Regions from separate parts of the Homo sapiens genome. Here region 1 is linked to region 2. Evidence: promoter capture Hi-C in 16 types of primary human blood cells and fetal thymus (Javierre and others, 2016). All regions are on one chromosome and are shown on one strand. The core of a region is centred on a gene start or on the middle of the fragment in contact, and the rest is flanking DNA. Distances in the headings are between cores, read along the strand shown. Region 1 overlaps ABR (ABR activator of RhoGEF and GTPase). Region 2 holds the start of NXN (nucleoredoxin).

Evidence for each region. The method cuts DNA at HindIII sites, captures the fragments that hold promoters and counts their contacts. A CHiCAGO score of 5 or more calls a contact.
Region 1: a contact is called between a fragment that was not itself captured here and the fragment with the promoter of NXN in region 2, in 2 of 17 cell types (megakaryocytes and endothelial precursors). The highest score is 9.3, in megakaryocytes.

Annotation. Positions count from the first base shown.
Region 1 is chr17:1,051,491-1,058,295 of GRCh38, forward strand. It overlaps ABR (ABR activator of RhoGEF and GTPase), which reads right to left. Exons shown (of 23, transcript NM_021962.5): 12 at 6,480-6,555; 13 at 5,508-5,612; 14 at 4,545-4,619. Among named protein-coding and RNA genes, the nearest start is that of MIR3183, 32 kb to the left of the region's middle. The HindIII fragment of the contact is 2,524 bases long and covers 2,463-4,986 here.
Region 2 is chr17:975,795-982,864 of GRCh38, forward strand. NXN (nucleoredoxin) reads right to left here and starts at 3,982. Exons shown (of 8, transcript NM_022463.5): 1 at 3,525-3,982. The coding sequence starts at 3,884. RefSeq lists enhancers at 2,895-3,830, 5,255-5,549. The HindIII fragment of the contact is 5,276 bases long and covers 311-5,586 here.

The sequences.
Region 1 (6,805 bases), core at 2,475-4,974, 75 kb after region 2:
AAATCTACCTTGGGACCCAACTGCTGAGGCCACAGCACCGGCACGGACCCCAGGCCCTCTGCAAACCCACACCCGCCCTGGGCTCGGACCCCAGCAGTCCTCCCACCTCCAGGGAGATGCCGAGGTTGTTCCCAGGGTACCAGAGGTGGTGTGGGAGGTGCCTTTGGGACACTATGGCCAACCCTCTGCAGCGTGAAACAACGTCAGAGGTCACAGTGCGGGCATACAGTGCAGGTGGCTTACTCCACTTAGCCCCTGCAGCTGCCCAGCTGGGCCATTCTCCATCAGAACAGCTTTCCTGGCCGGGCAAGGTGGCTCACGCCTGTAAATCCCAGCACTTTGGGAGGCCAAGGTGGGCAGATCACCTGAGGTCAGGAGTTTGAGACCAGCCTGACCAACATGGTGAAACCCCATCTCTACTAAAAATACAAAAGTGAGCCCGGCGTGGTGGCACATGCCTGTAGTCCCAGCTACTCGGGAGGCTGAGGCAGGACAATCGCTTGAACCTGGGGTGTGGAAGTTGCAGTGAGCTGAGATGGCACCACTGCACTCCAGCCTGGGCGACCAAGTGACTCTTTCTCAAAAAAAAAAAAACCAAAAAAACCAGCTTTCCTGCAGAAAGGACAGTGCAGCTACCCCAAGAAGCCTCCAGCTGGAGCAACAGAAAGAAGACCCAGGTGGGCCTCAGAACACACAGAACGGGGCTGGGGATTTGCAGGTGAACAACACAGAGGCCCTGAGCACCCCAGCCTGGGCCAGACCAGGGAGTGGGCCTGTGTGTTTGAGACGGGCCATGAAGTGCTGTCATCATGGATTGATCTCGGTGTGAGCCCCTCCTCGAGGGGCTGGGGAGGGCTCACAGGGTCAGAGGGAGGGTTCCGGAAGGGGCTGGGGGAGGGCTCACAGGGTCAGAGGGAGGGTTCCGGAAGGGGCTGGGGGAGGGTTCACAGGGTCAGAGGGAGGGTTCCGGAAGGGGCTGGGGGAGGGCTCACAGGGTCAGAGGGAGGGTTCCGGAAGGGGCTGGGGGAGGGTTCACAGGGTCAGAGGGAGGGTGCCGGAAGGGGCTGGGGGAGGGGTCACAGGGTCAGAGGGAGGGTTCCGGAAGGGGCTGGGGGAGGGGTCACAGGGTCAGAGGGAGGGTTCCGGAAGGGGCTGGGGGAGGGGTCACAGGGTCAGAGGGAGGGTTCCGGAAGGGGCTGGGGGAGGGTTCACAGGGTCAGAGGGAGGGTTCCGGAAGGGGCTGGGGGACGGCTCACAGGGTCAGAGGGAGGGTTCCGGAAGGGGCTGGGGGAGGGTTCACAGGGTCAGAGGGAGGGTTCCGGAAGGGGCTGGGGGAGGGTTCACAGGGTCAGAGGGAGGGTTCCGGAAGGGGCTGGGGGAGGGGTCACAGGGTCAGAGGGAGGGTTCAGGAAGGGGCTGGGGGAGGGCTCACAGGGTCAGAGGGAGGGTTCCGGAAGGGGCTGGGGGAGGGGTCACAGGGTCAGAGCGAGGGTTCCGGAAGGGGCTGGGGGAGGGCTCACAGGGTCAGAGGGAGGGTTCCGGAAGGGGCTGGGGGAGGGTTCACAGGGTCAGAGGGAGGGTTCCGGAAGGGGCTGGGGGAGGGGTCACAGGGTCAGAGGGAGGGTTCCGGAAGGGGCTGGGGGAGGGGTCACAGGGTCAGAGGGAGGGTTCCGGAAGGGGCTGGGGGAGGGGTCACAGGGTCAGAGGGAGGGTTCCGGAAGGGGCTGGGGGAGGGCTCACAGGGTCAGAGGGAGGGTTCCGGAAGGGGCTGGGGGAGGGTTCACAGGGTCAGAGGGAGGGTTCCGGAAGGGGCTGGGGGAGGGTTCACAGGGTCAGAGGGAGGGTTCGAGAAGGGGCTGGGGGAGGGCTCACAGGGTCAGAGGGAGGGTTCCGGAACGGGCTGGGGGAGGGTTCACAGGGTCAGAGGGAGGGTTCCGGAAGGAGCTGGGGACGGCTCACAGGGTCAGAGCGAGGGTTCCGGAGTCAGACCATCTGGGTCCACACCCCAGCTCTGCACAGATCACCTCCCTTCTCTCCCCAGGTTCCTGTCTGCACAGCAGGAAAAGTCATGGTGCCTACACCCTGGGCCTGCCTGTCCAGAGGTCCTGAGTTTACCACGGCTGAAGACACAGGGCCTCACCTCTGAGTGAGAACAGACATATGAGTGGGTCAGGGGTGGCGGCGGCGAAGGGAGTGAGGATAATCTGGGGGTAAAGAGAGATTTTGGAGCAGCTCAGCCGGCTCTGACACCCGCCCAGGCTGGGAGGCCACGGGTCGGCTCCCTGAGGCGAGGACCTCCCGGCCAACGGGAAGCAGGAGAGGGAGGGGCGGCATCTGGGGACATGGAGTGGTGGCGCCTGGTCCAGACATGGGTGGGACAGTGCTTCAGAGCTCACTAGCCAGAAGCTCCTCAGCGGCAGCCCCCAAGAAGGGAGGTCTGTGGGTCTGGAGAGAGTTCAGGAAGCTTCCACGGTAACAAGCAGCCTGAGGGACCGTGTGGTGTTCCCGGCCAGACATCGAGAAGTGCCCAAAAGGTTAGAGCTCCGGCTCTGGTGCCGGAAGACGTGGATTCTGCTGCACCACCTGCTACTGTGTGACTCCAGGAAGGAACCTTGAGCCCCTCCGAGCCTCGGCGTCCTCGTGTGTAAAACAGGGATGGTTTCCGTGACCTCGGCGGGATGCCGGAGGCTCAGAGCGGACCGTGAGACTGAGAGGCTCTGAACACGCCACAGGCTTTGCACATGTGAGTACGTCCACACGCCAGCCATGTTCTCACCTTCTCCAGGTGCACGGTAGGTGCTGTGTAAATTAACGACTTCATTCCACATTTCTGAGCTCCCATGCATCCCAGGGTAAAGGAGACCTGGTTCCCGCCCTCAGAGAACTCACAGTGGGAGACGCAAATTGTTAAGTGACAAAACAGCATGACAGGTGCCATAACCAGCTTGCCCTGAGCAGGATGGGGGCACAAGGAACCTCAGGGGATGGGGGCACAAGGAACCTCAAAGGGATGGGGATACAAGGAACCTCAGGGGATGGGGGCACAAAGAACCTGAGGGGACGGGGGCACAAAGAACCTGAGGGGATGGGGGCACAAGGAACCTGAGGGGATGGGGGCACAAGGAACCTCAGGGGATGTGGGCACAAGGAACCTCAGGGGATGGGGGCACAAGGAACCTGAGGGGATGGGGGCACAAGGAACCTCAGGGGATGGGGGCACAAGGAACCTGAGGGGATGGGGGCACAAGGAACCTGAGGGGATGTGGGCACAAAGAAGGGACAAAGAAGGGAGGCCAGTTTGCCCCCAGGAACTCAGGGAGGCTTCCTGGGAAAGGCTGCTCTAACGGCCCGGGGAGTCACCTCTGTGTGGGGCGCTGCAGGGAGGGGTGAGGGCAGACCCCACCTGCCAGTGAAGAGCAGGGAGTGGGAGGGGCAGGTGGAGAGGGAGAGAGTCAGGGTTTCTGATCCTCTGTGATGTTAAGTCTTTTCTCCTCTCTGTGACTCGGTTACCTCCTCTGGCAAATGGGTAGAAACTATTAGCTGTCTAACTGACTCACAGATTCCCGTGTGGATAACAGGTAGATAAAAAGCGCAACCAGGCCGGGCGCAGCAGCTCACGCCTGTAATCTCAGCACTTTGGGAGGCTGAGGTGGGAGGATGGCTTGAGCCCAGGAGTTCAAGACCAGCCTGGCCAACATGGGGAGAACCTGTCTCTAAAAAAAAATTTTTTAAAAATTAAAAAGTGCAATCCTACTTTGTGAGACACTAAAAACAGATTTAGTATGAGGAACCCACAAGGGGGAAGGGGAGAAAAAGCGATGAGCGTGGCAGCACACCAGCGTTGCACACACACGATCATATCCCAGCCTGCTCTCGGGTCAAAATTCACAAGCGTGACTGCCTTTTAGTGGAGGCCCAGAGAGGTTAAGAAACTTGCCCAAGGTCACACAGCTTGTCATGGGCAGATATGAAGTTGGAGTCCACGTGTTTGTCGCCCTCAGATATGAAGTTGGAGTCCACGTGTTTGTCGCACTCGGTTTCTTTTTTTTTTTTTTGAGACGGATTCTCGCTCTGTCGCCCAGGGTGGAGTGCAATGCCATGATCTCAGCTCACAGCAACCTCCGCCTCCCGGGTTCAAGGGATTCTCTGGCCTCAGCCTCCCAAGTAGCTGGGACTACAGGCGTCCACCGCCATGCCCACGCTAATTTTAGTATTTTTAGTAGAGACGGGGTTTCACCATGTTGGCCCGGATGGTCTCGAACTCCTGACCTCGTGATCCGCCCGCCTGGGCCTCCCAAAGTGCTGGGATTACAGGGGTGAGCCACCGCGCCCGGCCCCTAGGTTTCAGACAGCTTCAGGGAGGGCTTGAGAAAGAGGACTTTGGAGACAAAGGCCAGGGGTGACCTCCCTGCCAAGAGGAGCTGGTTTCTGGCCTCCAGGGGAATGCCCCATGTCTAAAGGCGTGCTGGCAGGGCCCCATCCTGGGCAGAGCAGTGCAGAATCCACAATGGCCCACCCAACCTCGTCCTGGCCAGGGCACTTACTGGCTGATTGCTTAAATCCCTTGGCAGAGTGGACGATGACATGAAGGAAGCCATAGAGTCCTGGAGACTCATCGTCTGCAAGAGAGAAAAGCCCCCAGGGCAGAGGGTGGTCAGCGGATCCCCTCAGCCTCCACCCCAGGCCGGCGGGAGGCAGACGGGGTATGAGACTCAGCTGAGTCTTGGTCCAACATCACCACCTGGTGGCCAGATGAAAAAGTTTCCGAAGGCCACGGCGGCCTTATATGTGAGCTGCCCGGGGTAGGGCTAGGGGGTCCTTCTCTCCTCCACTCAGCCTGGGGGGGTCCAGCACACCCACCATCCTGGCCCAGGGACTTAGTACCATTCCCCATGGGTACTGTCTCTCCCTCCAAATCCTGCCTATCCTGGCACTGAAAACTGACCAATATGATAAATCATTCTGCTAATGATTTATGTCGAGGAAAGCTTGCCTTCAGGACCCCGTTCACAAAGTGGACCCTTTCCCAGCACACAGGCAGCTAGAATACACCCACTCCGGTCAGTTCCCAGCCCTGATCACAGCTCCCCACTGCTCAAAACCCCCCCAGACTCCCGGGCTTACAGCATGAATTCCAAACTCCCTTGCTTGGGATTCAAGGCCTTTCAAGAGCTGGTCCCTGGAAACTTCCAGCCTCATTTCCCATACACCATTTTATCTACCGGGTCTGCTCTCTCATGAATATATTAACAGCACAATCTCAGTGCACCAGGGTGCCAGTTCTCCCAAGCCAGACAGAGGGGCCCAAGGAAAAGCTGGGGTCATCTGGGAACTCAGTAGACAGTCACCCCTACCCAAGCTGTGTCCTGGCCACTCAACAGTCTCAGCACAGCCGAGCAGGGATCAGCCATTTACAGCCACATGTCTGTCTGAGTCCTTACGGGAAGCCGGCCACGCTCTGAGGGCTGGGACCTGCCGGTTGGGCCACCTCTGGTTCCCGAGCTTACCGTCTTTATTGCTGGTGACAGGAATGTTGTGTACAGTCCTAAGCTTGAAACAGGATCCTGTGAGCACCTGGAGCTCCACTGAGCTCAGGACAAAGGCCTGGAGATCTGGAGGGAGAGCCGAGAGAGAAGGGAGCGTGGGCACTGGTCCACCAGGACCGGCTGCTCTTCCCTGGGGGCTGCTGCAGGAAGACGGCTTAATCCCTGGGGCAGACTTGGTCCTTGCGAGGGAGGGGGAAGGATTTGTGGACACAGCAGGACTGGTGTAGATGCTGCGAGAGGGGTCAGAGTAGGAGAATCTAACTGAAGAGGTTTGTGTGTGTGTGTGTGTGTGTGTGTGTGTGTGTGTGTGTGTGTGTGTGTGTGTGTGTGGTGTATGCGTTTTGTTTTCGTTTTTTTTTTAAACGGAGTCTCACTCTGTCGCCCAGGCTGGAGTGCAGTGCTGTGATCTCAGCTCACTGCAACCTCCGCCTCTCAGGTTCAAGGGATTCTCCTGCTTCAGCCTCCTGAGTAGCTGGGATTACAGGTGCCCACCACCACACCTGGCTAATTTTTGTGTTTTTAGTAGAGACGGGGTTTCACCACGTTGCCCAGGCTGATCTCAAACTCCTGACTGGGATTACAGGCGTAAGCCACCGTACCCAGCCTCTGTGTATGTGTGTATGTGTGTGTGTGTGTGTGTGTGTGTGTCTCTGTGTGTGTGTGTGTGAGAGAGAGAGAGAGGTAGAGAGAGAGAGAAAGCCCAGGCTGGGCTCTGGGTCCAGTCCCAGGACTAAATCATCATGTCTTTCAGCCAATCAGTTAGATTCTTTGGGTCTCAATTAATCCGTAACATCCTTAAACGCTCACCCTGGCACCTCTGAGGGTGACTGCGAGGGCCAAAGACGTGATACTGGACATGAAACGCTTAGAAATACAAAAGGCCCATCAATGCCACGGACATCATTGGGGAGCGTGGAAGAGGCAGGAATTTACCCTTCTTCTGTAGTTTCTGAATTGCTTCTCTCCACTCTGACCTCTCGTAGTCCGAGGACAGTAGGAACAGGTAACTCTGAAGAGAGGAGATAAGCATAAAGTGGGTGACCACAGTCAGGCAAAGCGTACTCCCAGATCCTGGGGACCCCAACAAAGCTCCTTTTATCTTTTTTTTTTTTTTTTTTTTGAGACAGAGTCTCGCTCTTGTTGCCCAGGCTCTAGTGCAATGGCAAAATCTCGGCTCACTGCAACCTCCACCTCCCGGGTTCACGCCAATCTCCTGCCTCAGCCTCCTGAGTAGCTGGGATTACAGGTGCCCACCACCA
Region 2 (7,070 bases), core at 2,732-5,231:
GGACCTCTCCAGTCTTGACGAGTGAGTAACATACTAATCCAAAGGGAAGACCAAATCCCCAAAGTCCAAATTTCACCACCTCCTGACTATCGATCACATTCCTTCTCTCTAGAAATGTGAAAATCATCTACCAACCTACTTATTAAAACAAGTCTAACTGCCTTAACTTCAGGATTATAGATTTGCTGATGAAATTGTTATAAATGCTCTCAAAGTTCTATTACCATCTAATTACAATTTATGCACAGCTATATAATAATGTGTGTTTTGGAAGCTGAAATAATATGTGTTTTGGAAGCCAAAAAAATTAAGCTTCAATTACTTTTGTACCTACCATGACAACAGGCAGAAACAGGACAATTTTGTATAAAGAATGTTTTTTTACATTTTTGTCCTTTTTTTTTTTGGTGTTTTCTCACAGTTCCTGTCAAGGTGAGAGGAACCAGGCAAAATGCAGGCTTAACATATACGGTCATCCCCAGGTTTTTTTTAACTATATAAAGGAGAAATTAATAAAAGAAAAAAAGAAATACCACACAGCATTTTCTTTCCCCACCATAATTTTTCAATTTTCTTTAGAGAAATGCCAGCCAATAACTAATTAGAACCATACCCTTTGTTATCCCAATGGGAAGAAGTATACGCATGGGCTTAAAGAACAAATGTTAATGAGAATTTAAAAAAAATTAGCAATCTGGAACTCTGGTTTCCCTTCAGTGTAAAACAAAATTCCCTTCTCTAGAGTTATTTTTATCATTGGCGAAATGACACGGATAGAGTCCATCCACAAGACGTGTTCACCCATCCAGTGCCCTCAGCTGGGAGAACTCCGGCTCTTCACTTGTTCTGATGGGGAAATTAGCATCATTAGCTCACGGGCTTCTAAGCACCCTAACTTCAAATGAGACAAAAACTCAGTTACAGAAAAGGCATTTGTTCCACATCTCTTTGGTTTCAAGGGGGAAAATAATTCCTTTTTTTTTTTTTTTGAGACAGAGTTTCGCTCTTGTTGCCCAGACTGGGGTGCAATGGTGCGATCTCGGCTCACCGCAACCTCCGCCTCCCAGGTTCAAGCGATTCTCCTGCCTCAGCCTCCCTAGTAGCTGGGACTAGAGGCATGCGCCACCAGGTCTGGCTAATTTTGTATTTTTAGTAGAGACGGGGTTTCTCCATGTTGGTCAGGCTGGTCTGGAACTCCCGACCTCAGGTGATCCGCCCACCTCAGCCTTCCAAAGTGCTGGGATAACAGGCATGAGCCACCGCACCCGGCAATAATTCCTTTTAAAATCAGCACGTAGCTTTTGTAATTTCCAAGAGTATGTGTTCCATAAGAAGGACAGCTGGAGTCTTTTTACCTGGTATATATCCCCGAGAAAGATCTTGAGTGGTTTGTTCACGACCAAGGAAAGAAACTACCTCCTTGAAAACTGGACTGGTTTTAGAGAATAAAGTATAGGATGTGAGTCAGAAAAACTCTGGGCCAAAAAATAAAATGTTTAAGATGCTAACGCACCAGGGTTTGGGCACGTCCAGCACTCTCAACGGTATTTTCAAATGAGAGTCTGCCCTGTGTCATCCAGGTTCTCATCATGGAGGAATCAGCAGGTCCAGGCTAGGGCCGCAGAATACTTTTTGTCATGCAAAGAGCCTGTCCAGGGTATAGAGAGCCAGCCATGGCCCATGTCCTATCAAATATTCTCCTTTTTCGGAAAAAGCTCTAAGCATTTGCAAAACATCTGTTTGCTCCATATTTTTACTATCCAAAAAATGTATTTCCTCTTCAGTAAAAAACACAACAATAGGCTGTTAAGCCTGTAACATTTTACCATAATTCTATGTTTTCAAAAGCTAGAAATCATTTGTATTGCCGGATAAGGACATTATTTTAAGTAGACTTTAGTCTACAACAGAAACTTGCCGTAACAATGAAAATGTTTTTTGGCAAATCCCTTTCTGAACATTATTTCTCCACGAACGTATCACAAAAACCACCACCAAGGAAAACAAAGGATTCTCGTATTTTGAATCAAAAAGTACTGGCCATGCATATTCATACTATATCAAGCATGTCAATCAAAATGGGCAAAATAACCTAAAAAGCAGTAAAAATGCCAACTCTTGCCTCTGAGTGGTTAGTGAACCTATGTTTTCCCAATATGAAATTTACAAACTGCATCGGATCAACTGTATTTCATACTTTAAATCTCGAATCTCTACCTCCCACTGCTTCGGGATGGATGATTTACTCAAGACATTTGGGGTCACAGTGTAAGCCTTTTGCTCCCAGTAAATCTAAATCATGCTTCTCAACAAGATTCTGCACATATAAAAGGAACACGTGGCACGCCTCGCCATGCTCCCCAGAGGAAACTAAACGCCCCCAGAATAGCCCTTCTGTCCACTCCAGAAACAGGCTTTCCTCAAAAAGGGAAAGGGGCTGGATTCACACGTTGCATCATATACACTCACGAAGCAACAGCGCTCCAAAACTTTTTCTGACTCCATTCATTACAAAATGTCCTGGATGTGCTTTATTATCACAGAGACAGACATCCTCACCCAAGGGACACACTCAGAAACCCAAACTCAACTCGGCAGCAAACTGGGAGACACGAGAAGTTGACAGCAAAGTATCCATTTCCCCAAATCCTCCTTCTTCCAGTCAATGTGCATCGATGGGGTCAGCTCAGCCCTTAACTCGAAGACCCCGGGACCACAGGGGCCACCACGCAGCTGAGCTCTGCACAGCCCGGGCTGTTCCCGCGCCCGGGAGGCGTCTGGGGAGGAGGCTGGACGGCCAGACAATGCAAAGCTCCCCGGTGGCCGCGAACTCAGCCTGGGGCGGGGGAGGCGGGGGCGGGAGACGGAGCCGTGAGCGCCCTTCTCGGCCACAGCCACGGCCACGGTCACCGGCCGCCTCTCCTGACCTCGGCCTCGGCCCCCAGGTCCCCGGTCCCCGGGGAAGGGGCTCCGGGAAGGCAGGTTTCTCCCGGAAAGAAAGGAAACGCGCTGGTTTGGGCGCCACGGGCGGGGGGCGTGCGCCCTCCCCTCCCCTCCCCTCCCCACTGTGGGAATCCGCGGGGGTCGGCGGCGGAGGCAGGAAGGGCCTGGCGCCTCTGCTCGCGGGTGAAGGGGTCGCGGAACCGGGATCCCCGAGCGCAGCCGCCCCCACCCGAGGCTCCCAGCGTGTGCGGACGGAGGGGCTCGAGCCGGGATCCCGGGGGCCGAGGGGGGTCCAACTTTCCAGGGCGGGCGCAGCGCAGCACTCGAACCAAAGAGGGGTCCTGGGATGAGGGTGCGGGCACAGCGCGGAAGGGGGGGGGGCAGAGGCGGGGACGGCGGGGTGGGGGGCGGGGAGAGGACAGTGGGTCGGGGGGCGGGGGACTGGGGGCAGGGGTCGGGGGGTGGAGGGCGGGCAGGGGGACAACGGGGTTGGCGGAGGGCAGGGGTAACGGGCGTGGGGGGCGGGCAGGGGTAACGGGCGTGGGGGGCGGGCAGGGGCCGGCGAGGCCCGCGCCGCTCACCTTCCTGTGCTTCTCCTTGTAGGGCAGCGCCAGCCACGGCATGTCCCGCACGAAGTCCTGCCACTGCCGCTGGTCCTGGTCCGAGGACACGAAGACGATCTCCAGGCGCCGCCGCGGCTCGGGCTCCGCCGCCGCCCCGGCCCCCGCTCCCGGCCCCGGCCCGGCCGCCGCGTCCCCCCGCAGGCGCCCGTAGAAGGCGGCCAGGCTGGCGCTGAGCTGCGCGCAGGGGGCGCTGAGGCTGCAGCCGAAGTAGAGACCCAGCAGCGAGATGCCGCGGGCGCCCAGCGAGTGCACGTCCACCTCCTCGCCGCCGCCCGTCACCAGCTTCTCGCCGAGCAGCTCCTCCAGGAAGCCCGACATCCTGGCCCACCGCAGGGCGGGCAGGCGGCTGCGACCCCGCTCCACGGTCCGCGCGGCGGGAGGAGGCGGCGGCGTCGGCGGCAGGCGCTGGGGAGAGCAGAGCCCGGCCCAGTAGGGCCGCCCACGCCACGCCCCCTCCGCCTGCCCGCGCCACGCCCCTTCCCCCGCCCTGCCACGCCCCCTCCGCGGCCCGCGCCACGCCCCTTCGGCTGCCCTCGCCACGCCCCTCCGCCCGCCCTCGCCACGCCCCCTCCGCCCTCGCCACGCCCCGTTTGCGGCCGGCGGTGGCCAGAGCTCTCCGCCCAGGCGGGGTCCGCAGCTGCCGGCCGCGGTGCGCGGGGTGACTGCTTGGGCGAGAAGCCGGACCCGAAACGCCGCACTCTCCCTGGAAAGCCCACGGCCGAAGTGAAGAAAGGAGAAGGGCCCGCTGAGCCGGCGCTTTCCCGGGCTGCAGCCCGGCCCGCATTTTCTCTCCTCCCCAGTTCTAAATTCCCTCCAGACCTCCAGGGATCCCGCCCCCTCCCCGCGGAGCTCTTCACCCTCTTCCTGTTCCTCCCCGGCCTTTCCCTCCTCCTCTCCCTGCACGAAGCCTGACCCTTAGGCCGCTCCGGGCCCCACTGACCCTGAGATGCTTATAGGACCCGCCGTCCTCACTGCATCAGGCCGGGCCTGGCTGGACACTGACTCCTCTGTGTGTTCCAAGCTGTTCTAAGGGGGCCGAGGACGCCCTCGCAGCTTCTGGTGGGGTCTGGTTAGGGTGCCAGGTCTCAGTGTGGGATTTCCGTCCAGGGGTCGCCGGGGCCTCTCCCCCCAGCGAATCTGTCTTCCAGCCCCACAAATGGATGCAAAGGACGCCGCGGGGCCTCCAGACCAATGCTGGCCGCGCTCCTGAATCCGCTCCATCCTCATGTCAAGTCTATGGATAGTTGAGAACATTTCTAGAGATTTTTTTTTTCCTACCAGCTGGCAGGATGCTCCCCAATGCTTAGGGAGAAGCTGGATTAAACAGGTGGTCTGGGCCGGGCGCGGTGGCTCACGCCTGAATTCCCAGCACTTTGGGAGGCCGAGGTGGGTGGATCACAAGGTCAGGAGTTCGAGACCAGCCTGGCCAATATGGTGACACCCCCCCCCCGCCTCTACTAAAAATACAAAAATTAGCGGGGTGTAGTGGCAGGCACCTGTAATCCGAGCAACTCAGGAGGCTGAGGTAGGAGAATGGCGTGAAGCCGGGAGACGGAGGCTGCAGTGAGCCGAGATCGCTCCATTGCACTCCAGCCTGGGCAACAGAGCAAGACTCCGTCTCAAAAAAAACAAAAAAACAGGTGGTCCGTGGCGAGTACTCTGGCCACGCAGCGCCTCCCCCCAACCCAACCCACTGGTGCACGAAGCAGGTGCAGATCCGGGCCCAGCCACAGTAACAGGCCGCCGGTGTGGATCAGCTACTGACGACTCAGCGAAAGCAAAAAAATAAAAGCTGAAAACCCGCCCCTCTCAGAGCTTCCACCGCCGCTTCGGAGGATATTTCCTGTGCATCCATCGCCACCTAATGGAAAGAGTGAAAAATGAGGCCGACCAAACTCCATTTGTGAAAAGACACTGCCGGGACACCAGGCACAATGCTTTTATTTTACAGCAGCTTTCCACATACACAAATGATAGGACGCTTTGCGGGAGCTAATTTAAACCTCAGAATAGAACTTCAAGCTTTTGGCACAAAACGTAAGTGTTCACATCGAAGGTTCTCCGTTTTTCTAGGGTAGAATAAGGAATGGTGCAGGGTTCCAGCTTGGTGAAATGTTACCATATAAAACAATTGGGAGAGGTGGAGATGGGAGCGGAAAGTGGACTGGCGTCTCTACAAGTTATATCCACTTCCTTAGTCACCTGCTGGTATTGCTAATGACACAGGTAAGATCTTAGATGGAGGACCGCCTTCGAACACCCTAGAATCCTACTGCAAAGTCGAATTCCACCTTAATTCTCAGGAGACTTTCATGCTGAAAGTCTGTGCCACTGTAGGGACAATATTATAAAACACACACAGAAAGCATCACTTTTTAGTGAAAACTTTATTTATTTATTTATTTATTTATTTATTTATTTTGAGACAGTGTGGGCGGCAGGCCACCCAGGCGCTGAGGCAAGAGACCGAGGACACAAGCCGTTCCAGTGTAATAAAATATAAAATAAGAATAGTTATACCAGATATAGATCTTAGATAGGCTTATATATGAATATCATTAATCATTAGTTTGTAGCAATTACTCTTTATTCCCATATTATAATGATCCTCGCTCTATAATCATAATCTAGGGAAAACCAGGCCATACAGAGATAGGAGCTGAGGGGACATAGTGAGGAGTGACCAGAAGACAAGAGTGCGAGCCTTCTGTTATGCCCAGACAGGGCTACCAGAGGGCTCCTTGGTCTAGCGGTAACACCAGCGTCTGGGAAGACACCCGTGGCCAGGCGGACTGTGGTGTAGCGGTAGCGTAAGTGTCAAGGAAAAACACCCGCTACTTAGCAGACCGGGAAAGGGAGTCTCCCTTTCCCCGGGGGGAGTTTAGAGAAGACTCTACTCCTCCACCTCTTGTGGAGGGCCTGACTGCAGGTTCGCCCACAATTATCCGGAGGCCTAACTGTCTCCCTGTGATGCTGTGCTTCAGTGGTCACGCTCCTAGTCCGCCTTCATGTTCCATTCTGTACACCTGGCTCTGCCTTCTAGATAGCAGTAGCAAATTAGTGAAAGTACTAAAAGTCTCTAATAATGGTGGAAGCTGTTTCTCTCTTTGTCTCCTCTCTCTCTCTGCCTCGGCTGCCAGGCAGGGAAGGGCCCCCTGTCCAGTGGACACGTGACCCACATGACCTTACCTATCATTGGAGATGGCTCACTCTCCTTATCCTGCCCCTTTGTCTTGTATCCAATAAATATCAGTGCAGCCTGGCATTTGGGACCACTACCGGTCTCCGCGACTTGGTGGTAGTGGTTCCCCAGGCCCAGCTGCCTTTTATCTCTTTGTCTTGTGTCTTTATTTCTACACTCTCTCGTCTCCGCACACGGGGAGAGACCCACTGACCCTGTGGGGCTGGTCCCTACAGACAGAGTCTCACTCTGTTGCCCAGGCTGGAGTGCAGTGGTGCGATCTCAGCTCCTGCAACCTCTGCCTACCAGATTCAAGTGATTCT